Regions from separate parts of the Homo sapiens genome. Here regions 2 and 3 are each linked to region 1. The links are contacts of gene promoters, found by promoter capture Hi-C in blood cells and fetal thymus (Javierre and others, 2016). All regions are on one chromosome and are shown on one strand. Each heading gives the region's core, a stretch centred on a gene start or on the middle of the fragment in contact. The rest is flanking DNA. Distances are from core to core; before and after follow the strand shown.

Region 1 (4,940 bases), core at 1,769-4,268:
GTAAGCTGAGATCACGCCACTGCACTCCAGCCTGGGCAACACAGTGAGACTCCGTCTCAAAAAGAAAAAAAAAAGAAAAAAAATTTCAGAGTCTCAGAACATCTCACCTGGAATGCTATGATGTGCCACCTAGGCATGCAGATGCAGTCCTTTCTCCAGCCCCTCCCTCCAGGCCTCTGAAGTCTCCTCCTAGGGGCGGGCCATGATGAGCTCAGGACTCTGTGCCTTTGTCCTTTCCCGTGTTGAGGTGTGGAATTGGTCCCTTTCCAAGGGCATGTGATAAACTGACTCACACCAAGGCAGTAATAAGGGAGGCCAATCTCCCCCTGGGGCCTTCGACTTTTAGTGGAGTATTAAAACTTAATTTAAACTGATGAATTGTAATGGTGAGATTTCAAGCCCTTCCATGGGACAATGGGAAGATATATTTCTTTTTAAATAAAGGGCTTTCTTCTGAAATCAGACCACGCCCTTTCAATGACTGACACAAACTGCTGGAGAGACGCAAAAGTAAGAGCTGATTCTGTCTTCTGGATCAAAACGTCCCACTCCCCCGTGAAAAGAAATCTTGACTTTTTCTCTCCCCCTCTCCAACACAGGATGAAGCAGTTAATCCCACCACCTCTAGCTCAGGATGAGAGAGCAACTCACACATCCCTCTTAGAAGACCAAACTCTGGCCGGTTTTCTGCATGCCTGGTGCTCCTTGCAGAAACAGAGCCTTCCTGCCTACCTCTGGAATCCTGGGGCCTCAGGTGGTGCCCAGTCCACAGTAGGAACACAATAGGAGATGAGTGAGTAGGGGAGAAGTGAGCAGTTGGATATGGCAAGTTAGAAACAGTCCAGCCTCCAGTGGGGCACTCTGCTTACCTACACTTAGGTAAACCCAAATCCTCAAAGCTCACAAGGCCTTGAAAACTCCCAATTCCATGAATCCTGATTACAAACAACCCCGAGGAACCATTTAGCTCCCCGAAGACCAACAGAATCTGTGTACAATGTGGGAGGAGAGAAACTCCGGAGCGTGGCCCAGGAAGACAGGTGGCAACCCTAGAAATGCTGCAATGCCTGTTGAAGCCCCTTCCCCCTGAACTGGCCGACAATTTTCCTTCCATATACATTAAAAGCATAGTCTGTATTTTGACCTGATGGAAAAGATATAGACAGGATCTGGGACAAAGCCACCAAATCTTTTGTTCCCTTGGACACTCGATAGAATAAATGTTTTCCACGTCACACAGAAGAATGTTAAGTGCTTTGTTTCTGCAGAAGTGGAACAGAGATAGTGGGAGCATCTGTCAAAACCCCCAAAATGCTTTAATGTGGTGGCAGCTGGCTGGGAGGAGCAGGAGCCCAGTTCCCTAAAAGCCAATAGTTCTGGAAATGGAGGAGGGCTGTTTGAACCAGCGCGTTAACATCACCCAGGAGCTTGTTAGAAAGGTACATTCTCAAGTCCCTCCCAGGACCAACTGAGTCAGAAATTCTAGGGCTGAAGTCCAGGAATCTGTGTTTTAACAATCCCTCCAGGTAATTCTGAAGTTTGAGAACCGGTGGAATAAGGCCAGGGAACTCACACAAGGCCACAGCTCTTAGGTGACCTAAAAAAAAGTGGACGACAGCTGAGGAGCCACCATGCCTGGTGTGGCCAGGCCTGTACTGAAGCAGCTGAGGGCGCGTCCACGCCCGTCAAACCATCCCGGGCACCCCGTCTCACCACCAGCCTCTCCCCGACGTCTGTTGTGACTTGACCTATGCTCGTGGCACAGGGAAAGGGCTGTGGCCTCTCAGGCTCCCAGGCTATTATTAGTTCCAATCCGCACAAATCTACCAGTGCTAAAGGGAAGCTTCTGCGAACTTTGGAAGGTGGATTAACTGTTTCAGAGCAGCAGCTGCGGGCCCAGATAGTTGTCGGAGCCGCTAGACACAGCCAAGCGCTTCCCTGAAAGCCAAGGCCGGCGGCGAGCTGGTGGTCCCGCCGGCCGGAGGCCCCTCCCCGCCAGGCCGCAGAACCCGGGTCGGAGAGCAGCCAGTCTCAACCTGCGTCCCCAAGGCCGAGGATGTGTCCTGGTTTTTTAAAAAGCTGTTTGCGCACTTCCAGGGCCTCACCCCTTTCATTTGGGGCTCCAGTATTACTGTATTGACCTAATTAATTCATTTTTTTCTCAGTCCAAAGTGGAAGCCGGAGCACAGGGATGCAAATCAAATACAAACCCGTCCTGGGTGCCAATACTCTGGACAATTAAAACAAAGAGCGCAGTGGTGGCGGTGGCGGCGGCACCACACAAAACCCTCGGGAAACATCCAGAACGTGCCGCGAACCAGCCGGCAGGGTGGGGCGCAGCCCGGCTGCAAACATGCCAGCAAGGAGGCAGTCCCAACCCCGCAGGTGGACAGGTGGAGGTTGGCAGGGGTCAAAATCCATCCTGAAGGCCTGGGAGCCGGGCAGCTGCGCGGCACAACTCCAGGGGGCACACTCGCCCTGCGCCCTGCGGGAATGGCGCCCCGGCCAAAAAAGCAACCAGACAAAAACCCATTGCACGGGCGGGAACTGGTCTGTGCGACCCGCAAAAGGGGTGGGTGGGAGAGGAAGAATGCGGAAGCGAGGAAGAGGATGGGAAGGGAGAAAGAGGAAAGGGAGGAAAAGGAGAAAGTGAAAAAGAGAGGGGGTTTGGGAGCGCGAGGGGAGAAGGAAGAGGGAGCCGGAGGGAGAGGAGGGGGATCGCAGAGAGCAGGAGCGCGGAAGGGGGGCGGGGGAGGAGCAGAGAGAAAGGGAAAGGGGGGTGCGCCGGGGCCCAGCGACCCGGGCGGGGGGTGGCGGCGGCCAAGGGGCGGGACCCGGGTCGGTGCCCACCTGCGTGGGCGCCCGCTGCTCCGAGGGGTGGAAGCCCGGGGGCCAGAGGGAGCGGCCGGGAGGAGGGCTGGGCAGGGAGGCAGAGGGGAGGGAGGGGACGGGGACGGGGAGGCGGGGAGGAGCCGGCGCTCGGCTGGGGCTGCGGGGGCGGCGACGGCGGGAGCGGCAGTGGCGGCGGCGGCGGGTCCGGAGGTGGCGGCAGGTGGCCCCGCGCGCGGCGGCCGGCCCGGCCGGGGGCGGGCGGGAAGGTGGCGCCTCGGGCGGGGGCCGGTCCCTGCACCAGGTGACCTGTTCCGGCCCGGATCCGGGCGGCCTCGCCATGCAGCGGCGCGGCGCGGGGCTCGGGTGGCCGCGGCAGCAGCAGCAGCAACCCCCGCCGCTCGCGGTCGGCCCCCGGGCCGCAGCCATGGTCCCGAGTGGCGGCGTCCCCCAGGGCCTCGGCGGCCGCTCTGCCTGCGCGCTGCTCCTGCTCTGCTACCTGGTGAGCGCCGGACCCTGCCCGGGTCTTCCCCTCCGCGCGGGGCCCCGGGGACGCGGGTGGGGGCGGCCGGGGACACCCGCCACGCGGGGCGGGGACGCCGCTGCTAGTTTTCTCTCTTCCTCGTCGCTGCGCCCCGGGCGTTCCCGGCACCTGGGATAGGTACCCCGGGCGTGGAGAGGGGCGCTTGGACCGGACTTGCCAAGCTGCTCTCTCGCTCGTGCTCATTCCTTTCCCTCCTGGACTCTCTCTAGACCCGGGTCGGGTTACCCTCGAGACCCCTTCTTGTCCTCGACTCCACCCGGGAGCCTCGCCGCCCGGAGTTCGCTCCCCGCCCCGCCGCGCGCAGTCTCCAGCACCCCCCAACCCCCCACCCCTCCTGGGCTTCCCTCTCAATCTTCTCGCAGCTCCTTTCCTTCCCGTGCCCAACTTCGCCTCTTACTCTCGGCGCCCGCCACCCGCGTCGACCCTCCTTTTAGTTTCCACCGGGTCCTCCCGGCCCGGACAGTTTTCTGCCAACGCACCTCGCATCTCCAGCGCTCTTCAACTCCTCCTTGGTCACTCCAGCCAAGTTGCGGATGCCGGAAAGAAATCTAGTTCTCTGTAACACGCTTACCGCCAGAGTGGTGACTTTAGCTGCGTCTTGAACATTGTCATTTCAGAGAATATGTTTGGCTCATGCATGTCAGTTTGCAATTTGCACACTTCTTGGCTTCTGTTTTAGTCATCAACTAAAGGGCAGTAACCTATTTTTCAAAACCCATTTATTTTAAATACCAGAGTAGCTGAGACCCCTCAGAACAAAGTGGGGAGAAATTTTCTCAGTTCCTTTGAGGGCTTGCTTGCTTCTGTTTTGAGTTCTCCTAAACAATAGTAAATTTACAGAAGGCGACACCCTTCCTGCCCAGAGTAACTTATGTTCCACAATCCTGCAGAAACCTTGGGTTATCTCGCCATATATTACTGTAAATAAATGAAATGGAAAATGCTGAATCATGAAACTGATGTAATAGGAAATTCACAGAATGCCAAAAAAAAAAAAAAAAAGAGCAGTGTCATTGTCCAGAATTCATTTCACTTATGTGGCATTGTCATTATTTGGAGTCTTTCTTTTTGGAAGCTAAAAACTGCTTAGGAGATACTGGCAGAAATTAGAATTTGATTCTGAAGAAATTTGCCACTCAGCCCGTTTCTTTTAACGTTTTTTACTTCTTGAATGTTTCATTTCTTGAAGCAAGAAGGTGTAAAAATGCAAATTATAATTCTGCCTGTGCATCTACCTGTTGAGCAATCCGTGCTTTTACTCATATTTCAGAATTAGCCAATATCAAATTGTGTGGTTGGGCTTACTTCATATTTTCATAAGAAGTTGTCAGTTAACATGAATGATATTTTTTTGCCCAAGAGATATTATTATTTAATATTTATGCCACAAGGTTACAACACACAGGCTCATAAATAAAACTGCCATAACAAATGACAAGATTTCAGTTTAAACAGATGATCCCTGTACACAGGGCCCTGCTGGCTACCCACAGAAGCAGAAGTGATGTAGTAGAGTGTTGCGTGAAACATTCATATACAAATGGGCCGGGCCGAAAAGTTCCACGTG
Region 2 (4,940 bases), core at 784-3,283, 560 kb before region 1:
CTGCAGGACATTCAATTCAGCACCACAGGCTCAAGACACCCAAAGCCAACATCACCCCCTCCAGTCACTGTAACAACAGAAGGAGAAAATCTCCCATTTCCCCAGAATGTCCCTGGGAGCATTAAGGAACCAACTCTGGTTAAGAACTGCTTCATTAGACCACATACTGTCGATTTACGATTAAAAAAAGAGAGACAATAAAGAGGGCCACAAAAATATTAGTAAAGAATTAATTGGCTATTGAAAAGGCAATTTTTAATTTAAAAAAGAGTCTGTCTTATTAATTCATGGTGGCAGTTGGGGATAAATAAGAAAAGCATACATACAGTCAGCATTTTTCAATGACTGCTTCTTTTTGGAAGGTTTGGAGATGACTTTTATCCGCTTGCTGAGGAACACACCAATGTCATCACTGTTGCCATAGAACATCTTTACAGACAACATGAAGTGCTTTCGCTTGTCTGAGTCAGATATATACAATGTTTTGGCTGTGCAATAGTTCTGTGAAAGAAAAGTAAAGTTTTAACAGCAGCAAAACCTTGTTTGTTTATGTAGTACCTAAAACTCAGAATGGCCATGGTTTAAGTAATAAGTAAAACAATTCCAAGGGATAGCTGATAAAACCAACTCTAAAAATTATCAACTATAAAAATTACTGAAATTGATTTCGGAAAAGTACAAAGTCTTCCTTATAAAGTCTGTAGAACACAAACATTGTCATCTATTGTATCCTCTTTAAAAGACCATTTAAAAAAACAGCCTTTTCTTGTTTTACATAGCTCTACAACTGTATCATGGAATTATCACTCAACGTTACAGCAGTAACTTTTAAAATAAATTTTACAGTTAAAAAAAATCAATGACTTTCTCCAAAAAAAAAATAATAATAAAGCTATCAGAATTCAAGAAATTATGTAAAAGATTTTAGCAGTAGTTCTTCTCAAAATAGTGCATAAAATATTTTTCTTTATATAGCTGAACACTAGAGTAATCACTTATAAGATTGAGGAAAACAATGATAGACAAACTGGATGATTATAAAATATCTTAAACCAGAAAGAGATTATATAAGCATTACTTTAAAGAACTATTTTTAAAATGGTTAACTTTGCCCAAAAGGACGATTCATATGTATCACCAGAAGAACTGAATTTAAAGGTACTAGAGAAAATGCTCAAGGCATTATGTCAGTTTACCAGAATTTAAATTCTGATAACTGAAAAGATAAAGAGATATAGCACTTTACAAACAGCAAAGACCCTTCAAAATGCTACTGCTTATATTATATATAACAATTCTAAAATCTTTCCTATTCTCTTGATCCCTGTGAATCAGGGAGGGGTCTAAATTATTGTCCTTTTCCAGATAAGATAAATGATGCTGAAACACAGCATAAGTATCTAAAGTATCGAATTATATTTTTTAAAGGATCAACATTCCACTTTAAAATTAAGCTAAACAAGTTTCTTCAACTGCCTCTCCTGTATCTTCCTTTTAAAAAGCAGAGCAAATGCTACTCAGGAAACAGTTAATGACTTCTAGGTTTTTATCTTTAAAATTTTATTCACAGACAGCCTCGGTAGCAGACAAAACTACTGCAATAGTTTATTGTATTTCTCATAGCAAAGCTATATAAGAAAATTTAGATGCCATCTTGAACATTATACATTTAACTAAGTTTTTAAAAATCAAAAGTTTGGTAAAAGCTTTGAGAGGTTTTGCTCTGTAGAAGGCAAAAATAAGATAAAGCCAATCATAGTAATAAATAAAAACAGGCCAGGGTGGTGGCTCATGCCTGTAATCTCAGCACTTTGGGAGGCCAAGGTGGACAGACTGCTTAAGTCCAGAAGTTTGAGACCAGCCTGAGCAACATGGTGAAACCCCATCTCTACGAAAAACACAAAAATTATCCAGGCATGGTGGTGCATGCCTGTAGTCCCAGCTACTCAGGAGGCTGAGGTGGGACGGTCGCTTGAGCCCAGGAGGCAGAGGTTGTAATGGGCCGTGATCCCACCACCGCACTCCAGCCTGGGCGGCACGGTGGCACCCTGTCTCAAAATGAATAAAGATAAAGAAACAAAAAACAACAGTACTTTGCAGTCACATCACTCCTTGCACCCAAGATCTCTAACGCACTCAGAGATGGCATCTGTGAGCTGCTATACCCATAGGTCGGCCATACTCTTAAAAGTGACAGACAGCATTGAAGGTCAAATTAAGCCTAAACAATGAAATTCTTCTGCAACATAAGACGAGGTCTATGAAAATGGGTATCAATGTACTAAAGCAGACAGTCATGGGAAGCAAAAATGAAATTTATATCTAAATGAAGGTAATTACATTCTAATGGGAAAGCTTAAAAATGTTGAGATGGCTTTTGAGTGTTAAAATTAAAAGGTAAGATCCATATCAGAAAGAGAAAATACTGAAATCCAGCATAAATAAGACATATTGGCAAACAAGAACGGAAAAAAAGAACCAAGAAGGTTGGATCATAAGACCTACACAAAAAGAACTGCATTTTGTTCGGAAAAAACAAACACACATATATCTCCTTGGAAAGAAAGGAAATATATCCCTAATTACAATGAGTAGTTTGAATCCACAAAAATCATAATCAAGATAATTTTATGGGAACTATTAGTTTTAAAAAACTATAAGGCCACTGACCACAAACTACTCAAATTCCATTAAGAAAAGAAGGAAAAAGTCACTGACTCATAGAAAATAAGCAAATAAAACTAAAATTACATTTGCCTTGCTATTGCAAAAGGTTAAATTAGCTAACGGAATTCTAGAAGAGAAAATGGCATATAATCATCTCTCTAGAAATACTCTTTGAAAACAAGATCTTTAGGCAATAAAAGACATTTCCCTGAAAGAAAGAAGAAATACCAAATCTAATGCTGCAAAGTGATACTGCAGAAATGTTTAAATTATAGAAACAAAATGTTACCAAGAGTATATGATGTTTAAAAATAAGAAAAACACAAGAGTGTTAACTAAGTCATCCTTGTTGCGTAGCTTACCTAGCTGTGACTATAAAAAATGTAAATTTTTTTAACAAATTAAAAACATTACACAAAATCTAAGATCCAACATATTACCTACATACAGCCAAATGTCATGACCATAAATTTAAAGGGCTAGATATACTAGAATTTTGTTGCAGTGAATATTTAAAATAAGTATAAACACCAAAAATTGCAAAATGAATATCCCATATTTCTCAATAACTAATTGTACCACTCAATGAACAGACTATTTCCTTACACGAATGGAGTTTAAGTGAGGCAGACAAGAGCAAAGTGCCTCTCACTGAAGCTCAGAATCCGCTGCTCAGGACATCTTTGCCTACCTTGGTCAAAACCATGTTCTTATACCTTTATGCTCTAAGCACATGATTATATTGTTTTTTTTTCTGCCTGGGATGCCTTCTACTAACTCTCACCAGTCTTGCTTTACATAAACTTCCCTAATAGAATTTTTCCTTAAAATTAAATATTAACATATAATTTTGGCTTACAGACATTGTACTAACCTATTACTAGGTATTTTAAATACTAGTTAAATGCTCAAGCTCTCAGGTATTCTATTCCTCTTCTGCCAGTTTCTAGGCCTTGGGGAAAGGGTATACTAGTGGAAGTTGAAGAAAGATATAATGAAAAACAGCAGAAAGATCTCCATGTTGAGGCAGCCCCTAAAGGTACAAAATTAGGATGTGGCACTACTAAGCCACAATGCTGCGAAAGGCAAGCAGTGATACTACTGGTTGGTTTATTTGGTATCACCTCATTTAAAATTACTGGAAGCTGGAACTGGTTAAAATGAGCAATGAAGTAGGATTAAACAGTTATACACACAGGTAGCTAGAATCCCTGGCTTCTCACTACCTATCTGATCCACTCATTCATAGTACTGAATGTCTACATGTGAAGCCTGGAGACATATAACTCTGAGACTTCCTAGGTAACAAGAAAACAGATGAGACAAGACTTAAGATCTATTAGATCAACCCACCACTTAAATATATTCGTTACTTTAGCTCAGGGATCATAATTTAGAAATAGTTTTAGTGGTTTAAGATGAAACAATCTTTATTGTAATAAGTATTATCCCAAATCTAATTTAAAATACATAGTCAACAAATCTTACTTACAAAAACTATAAAGATATAAATGACATACAAACAGCTAAATTTGAAGGAGGTTGACATTAAGACCTGTAGTACTATCTGTAAAATCACTAAAATTCAATTTGAGAGTACAAATCCCCTAGCTCACCTCCACCAACACTACTCCCAACCCATATACCTAGTGCCAACTACAACATAGCAAACACTAAAATATTCAACAAGGATGTATCAAATAATGAAACAGCTGTTTATGCGCTATTTTAGAAGATGTTTAGTCATTGAGATCAGAACTAACCATTTTCCAAAGTACAGTAGCAAGGAAAAATAAAACCATAGCTAAATTCTAAGTGAATAAAAAACTATCTTTCAATACTAAAAGTATAGATTGGCTGGACACGGTGGCACACACCCGTAATCCCAGCACTTTGGGAGGCTGAGGTGGATGGATTGCTTGAGCTCAGGAGTTCAAGACCAGCCTAGGTAACATGGCGAAACCCCATCTCTACAAAAAAATACAAAAAAGTTAGCTGGACATAGTGACACACACCTATGGTCCCGCTACTTGTGAGGTGGAGGTTGCAGTCAGCCAAGATTGCACTATTGCATTTCTGCATGGGTGACAGAGTAAAAACCCTGTCCCGGGGGAAGAAAAAAAAAGATCTAGATTGACTGCTTTCTAAATTCATACAATATAATCAGTAAAACTAGCTGATAGATTGTTTTCTCTAGAAAATTAATTGAAGAACCCCTGCCACGCACTAAAATTTGAGTAAAGCCAACTGTGGCTGTTCTTGTCTACAGTATC
Region 3 (4,940 bases), core at 1,551-4,050, 540 kb before region 1:
CTTTCATGACAACTCGGGTAAAACAGGACACAAACTTGGTATTTGATAATATCCGAGGCAGTCACAAATGCTTTCTACAAAGATTTTAATTATAATCATTAAACGAGCTAAAATTAAGCAATCACTCTTCCAGTACTCTTCTAAGCATGTATTAACATAACCAATGACCTTGAGGGTAACACTATTATGTACATTTTAGAAACTGGGTAGAGGTTAAGTAACTTTCCCAAGATGATACTGAAGAGTGAGGATTCAAATCTGCGTAGCCTAGCTTGTGAGGACAAAATCATACCGTTAGTGATTAGGGGTATAGCTTTGGTGTGAAATAGATCCGGGTCTGTTACTAAGGGTCTGTCAATCACTAAGCCTGAGTTTTCTCACCTGTAAGATAAAGGCAGTAATGCCTCATATTGGTGGTGGGGGCAGGGGGACACTTTAAAGTAAGTTAGTCCCACAAACTGACAGAAAGCAAGTGTCAGTAGCCTCGAGCTATTACTATTATTTCCTTAGAAAGAAGACTTCAACCTTCAACAGTACACAAAATGCAGAGGGAGGGAAAATGGGACTTCCACTGAGGCTTTGAGAGCAAACTTGAAAATGACCTAGGAATGAATGATCAGGCATGTTACCCAATGTGCAAAGCACAAATTTTGCAAGTACACCAGGTAAAGTGCACAACTATCCATCTTCCCACTGAAGATTTATTGGAAGCTTACTATATTCTAGGCACTGGGCATTCTACTGGCTTCTACTACTGGATGTAACTGTTCACAGTTCAAAGACCTCACAGTGCTTATGATGAATGCAGGGTGACAGCTCTGGTTTTCCTCGTCTTTTCCTTCATGTTTAGAATACAAATTCCTGAAAAAGTAACTAGAGCCTCAAGGTAATCATGAACAATAGTTGTCCTGTAAAAGTAATTTGCCAAATAGCTTCTTTCAACAGTAAAAATAAATTTCACTTTATTAAACAGAATATTAAAACATTAAAAATTATGTTCTCTGGCAATTAAAGCTTGATCATTGACTTTCTGCATCTTAAGGAGCCATAAAACAAGACGATATACTCTAAAGAAACACAATAAATAGTAAAAAGCCTGTCAAATAATAGCCCATATGCTTTTCATCCAAATAGAGGAAGGCTGTGTCAATAAATAGGATTTCTATCTCAGCACTGCTGACATCCTGGGCAAAATCATTTTCTGCTGTGGAGAGATTGCGCTGTGCATTGTAGGACTATGTAGCAGCATCACTATCTTTTACCCTGCAGGTGCCAGTAGCACCCTTCCTTGAATTATGACAACTAAAAATGTCTCCAGATGGTGCCAAATGTCAAGAAAGAGGATGGAGTGAGATGGTCACATGGAATGAAAACTACTGGGATAAACCCAAAAAATTTCAGTGGTAAGATATCACAATCATCCAGGTTTTTTTTTAATTAAAAAATACCAAAAATTTTATTATTGGAAAAACATATTACAGGTGCTGAAGAATCCTTGACCGTAGAATTACTGTTTTATTATTGAACTGTTTTTTTGAATACTTTAAAACATAAGGTAAATTTTGAAGTCTATTGTTTACTAATTTCATTTAATGATTTCTTACATAAAATTTTCATTCTAAATGAAAACCAATTGGATTACGCCTGTAATCACAGCACTTTGGGAGGCTGAGGTGGGCAAATCAATTGAGGTCAGGAGTTTGAGGCCAGCCTGGCCAACATAGTGAAACCCCATCTCTACAAAAAATACAAAAACTAGCCAGGCATGGTGGCACGCGCCTATAGTCTCAGCTACTCAGGAGGCAGGGAATTGCTTGAACCCAGGAGGCGGAGGTTGCAGTGAGCCAAGATCGCACCATTGCACTCCAGCCTGAGCGACAGACTCCATCTCAAACAAAAAAAACAAAACAAAAAAAGGAGATTTTGTTATCAAAAATAATTTTACTAACATGAAATTATGGAATTATGGCAAATGCCATTCTGGTTCAACATGCTTAATCTGTGATTACCTCTGTCAATTTTTTGACTGTGGTTTGCCTTATAAAATTCAAACTTTTTTTATACAGAAAAAAAAAAAGGAAAGAAAAATACCACAAAGAGAATACTACAGTGAAACATCCATGAATGGTAAGATAAGCTCATGTGCTGTTTCTAATGGATCTACTTTTACTAGTTATGCCAATGGAGGCAATGGGAGTCTGCAAAAAAAGGGAAGAACCTGGTCCCCGCGTAAAGGTAAAAGAGAACTTCAGTTAAGGGAACATAATCAATGTTATTAAATATTACAGAATAGTCAAGAAAAATAAAGATTAGAAACTCTTCATAAATTTGACAATTAGTTCATAAATGGAACGGCTTAATTAGAATCTTCTCAGTGAGCTGGTGGTGAGGCAACACCACTGAAGCAAGCTACAAAATGAAAGGAAGGGAAGAAAGTGCAATGAACGTAAGTCATGCTGATAAGGAAAAGGGGTGGTGGCGGGAATAACTAAGGTTACGGCAGAAAAGTTTGTCTCTTTACAGGATTTTTAAAATTCTGGATATAAAGGGAAGTTTTTAATTCCTAAGTTTGTTAAAACAAAAAAAGCCAAGAAGAAAAGGTAAAGATGCACTGCAAAAAAACCTAGTATCTAGAAACTGAGTACTTTTAAGTAGCTGAAGTATATAACACACAGAATTCTGAAAGACGGGCTGGACGAGGTGGCTCCCGCCTGTAATCCCAGCACTTTGGGAGGCTGAGGCAGGCAGATCACAAGGTCAGGAGTTCAAGACCAGCCTGGCCAACATAGAGAAACCCCATCTCTACTAAAAATACAAAAATTACCCGGGTGTGGTGGCAGACGCCTGTAGTCTGAGCTACTTGGGAGGCTGAGGCAAAAGAAGCACTTGAACGTGGAAGGCAGAAGTTGCAGTGAGCTGAGATTACGTCACTGCACTCCAGCCTGGGCGACAGAGCGAGACTCTGTTTCCAAAAAGAAAAACAGAATTCTGAAAGATGAGATTGGAAAGACAGGGTGGGGTGAGATTGGCTCAAGCCTTAAATGTCATGCTAGTAAAGTGTACATTTAATCCATAGCTTAGTGTTTCTCAAAGTAAATTCCTGGAGGCAAGATCCTCCTTAAAACGGAGTTCTGAGGGCCAAGACATATGGAAAACACTACAAACCACATCTCCCGCTAGGACATTAATTATAGCGGTGAGTTTGCGGTGTCCTTATGGTGCTAATCGCCATTCTTCTGAAAACAGACTTCCTCACTTTCTCACCACACTCTTACACACCTCTGTGATTGGTCCAAGGGGTAAGTGGAGGGAGTGTGGGAGAGAGGGAAGAGGAGAAAACCACCACAAAGATGGGAGGTCCAGTCATCTTTACCTCCAGGCTCACTCTCTGCGCTTCTCAAATTGGACTACTGTCACTTTAAAATCCAAATAATAAAAGTCCAAAATGAACTCTGTCTTCTAATGAAGAAACTTATTTTTGTTGTATCAAGAATTTTCAAAGTAATCACACACACACACACACACACACAATATCACTCGTGAACATTTTAGAGAACTGAAGAGCATATTGAGAAACACAATAGGCCACAGTCATCAAATCACAAAGCAGCCTGTTTTTGTGCCCCCTAGGAGCTAAGCATGCCTTTTACATTTTCAAAGAGTTACAATGCCGGGCAAGGTGGCTCACGCCTGTAATCCCAGCACTTTGGGAGGCCGACGCAGGCGGATCACAAGGTCAGGAGATTGAGACCATCCTGGCTAACACAGTGAAACCCTGTCTCTACTAAAAATACAAAAAATTAGCTGGGCATGGTAGCACACGCCTGTAATCCCAGCTACCTGGGAGGCTGAGGCAGGAGAATCGCTTGAACCTGGGAGGTGGAGGTTGCAGTGAGGCAAGATCGCGCCACTGCACTCCAGCCTGGGCAACAGAGTGAGACTCTGTCTCAAAAAACAACAACAACAAAAAAAGAGTTACAAAACAGAGACTAATAATATGCAACAGAGATAGTATGTGGCCCTCAAAGCCTAAAATATATACTACTTGACGCTACAGAAAATGCTTGTTGATCCCTGCAGACAATTTTTAAAAGTTTTTAAGGAAAAGTTGCAAAACAGAATTCTAATTAAATCAATTAAGTATATTGCACGGCTGACATTCAATCAAGAATTTTTTTATAAAATTCTTCCTCAAAACTTGACTTATGAACAACTGAGGGTTCAGAAAGCTCAGCTCAACTCTTCTCACATCTACTTGGGGATGCTGCCAAAAGGCATCCTGATTTATACGCACCCCCACAAAACCTTGAAGAACTGCCCTATTTTTGTCAGACTCTGGCAGTCTCGCCTTTTACACTGCCTCAGACACTTCTCAAAGTGAGCTCCACAATACTTACGGTTTACAAAGAAGCGTGTCTCAATCCAAGATGCTTCAGTGAAATCAGATAAAATAAAGTGAAACTAATTCATGGCAGAACTACTCAGAACCTTAAGCAAAATCTTCAAGAGAGGGATATTTGTAGGTTTCATTTTCCAAGCTATTAGACCAGACTAAGATCTCCTTGTTTTTCTTCCAAGGAAGCTTCCTGAGAACTACTGTTTGCCTGAGGACCAGTTTTGAAAATGACAATCTAGGGATACTATCAATAGTCAACAAGGTCCTGGTGCCCTTGTAACACAATAAAACATTGAGGCTGCTGTACTAAGTGTCTACATCTACCAGTGACCAAAGCTAAACAACAGTACAGGTCCTGTTCCTAAGGAAACACCTGCAAACCTCACTTCAATCCTCTCTTTTTATAGCAGAAGTAAAAATGTCCCAAAATTCCACAAAAAGTTTTTTGTAGATAAGTAAGTAAATTGCTTCAAATCCTGTCACACAGCTATGAGACACATTCTTTCAAATTCTGACCAGCTCTTGGTTTTCCCCTCCCCGCCTC

The links. The method cuts DNA at HindIII sites, captures the fragments that hold promoters and counts their contacts. A CHiCAGO score of 5 or more calls a contact.
Region 2: a contact is called between a fragment that was not itself captured here and the fragment with the promoter of SEL1L3 in region 1, in 1 of 17 cell types (total CD4 T cells). The highest score is 5.2, in total CD4 T cells.
Region 3: a fragment that was not itself captured here is called in contact with the fragment with the promoter of SEL1L3 in region 1 in 5 of 17 cell types (naive B cells, naive CD4 T cells, total B cells and 2 more); the score reaches 7.9 in naive B cells.

What each region holds. Positions count from the first base shown.
Region 1 is chr4:25,861,066-25,866,005 of GRCh38, reverse strand. It overlaps SEL1L3 (SEL1L family member 3), which reads left to right and starts at 3,018. Exons shown (of 24, transcript NM_015187.5): 1 at 3,018-3,331. The coding sequence starts at 3,170. LOC102723733 (a long non-coding RNA gene) reads right to left here and starts at 4,879. Exons shown (of 2, transcript XR_427503.5): 1 at 3,853-4,879. It overlaps LOC124900688 (a long non-coding RNA gene), which reads left to right. Exons shown (of 3, transcript XR_007058092.1): 3 at 600-798. RefSeq lists silencers at 2,785-2,944, 2,995-3,454, 3,725-4,019. The HindIII fragment of the contact is 3,672 bases long and covers 1,846-4,940 here.
Region 2 is chr4:26,416,112-26,421,051 of GRCh38, reverse strand. It overlaps RBPJ (recombination signal binding protein for immunoglobulin kappa J region), which reads right to left. Exons shown (of 11, transcript NM_015874.6): 5 at 327-501. Among named protein-coding and RNA genes, the nearest start is that of CCKAR, 72 kb to the left of the region's middle. The HindIII fragment of the contact is 649 bases long and covers 1,709-2,357 here.
Region 3 is chr4:26,396,661-26,401,600 of GRCh38, reverse strand. The region is part of intron 2 of RBPJ (recombination signal binding protein for immunoglobulin kappa J region); the gene reads right to left. Among named protein-coding and RNA genes, the nearest start is that of RBPJ, 78 kb to the right of the region's middle. The HindIII fragment of the contact is 3,568 bases long and covers 1,017-4,584 here.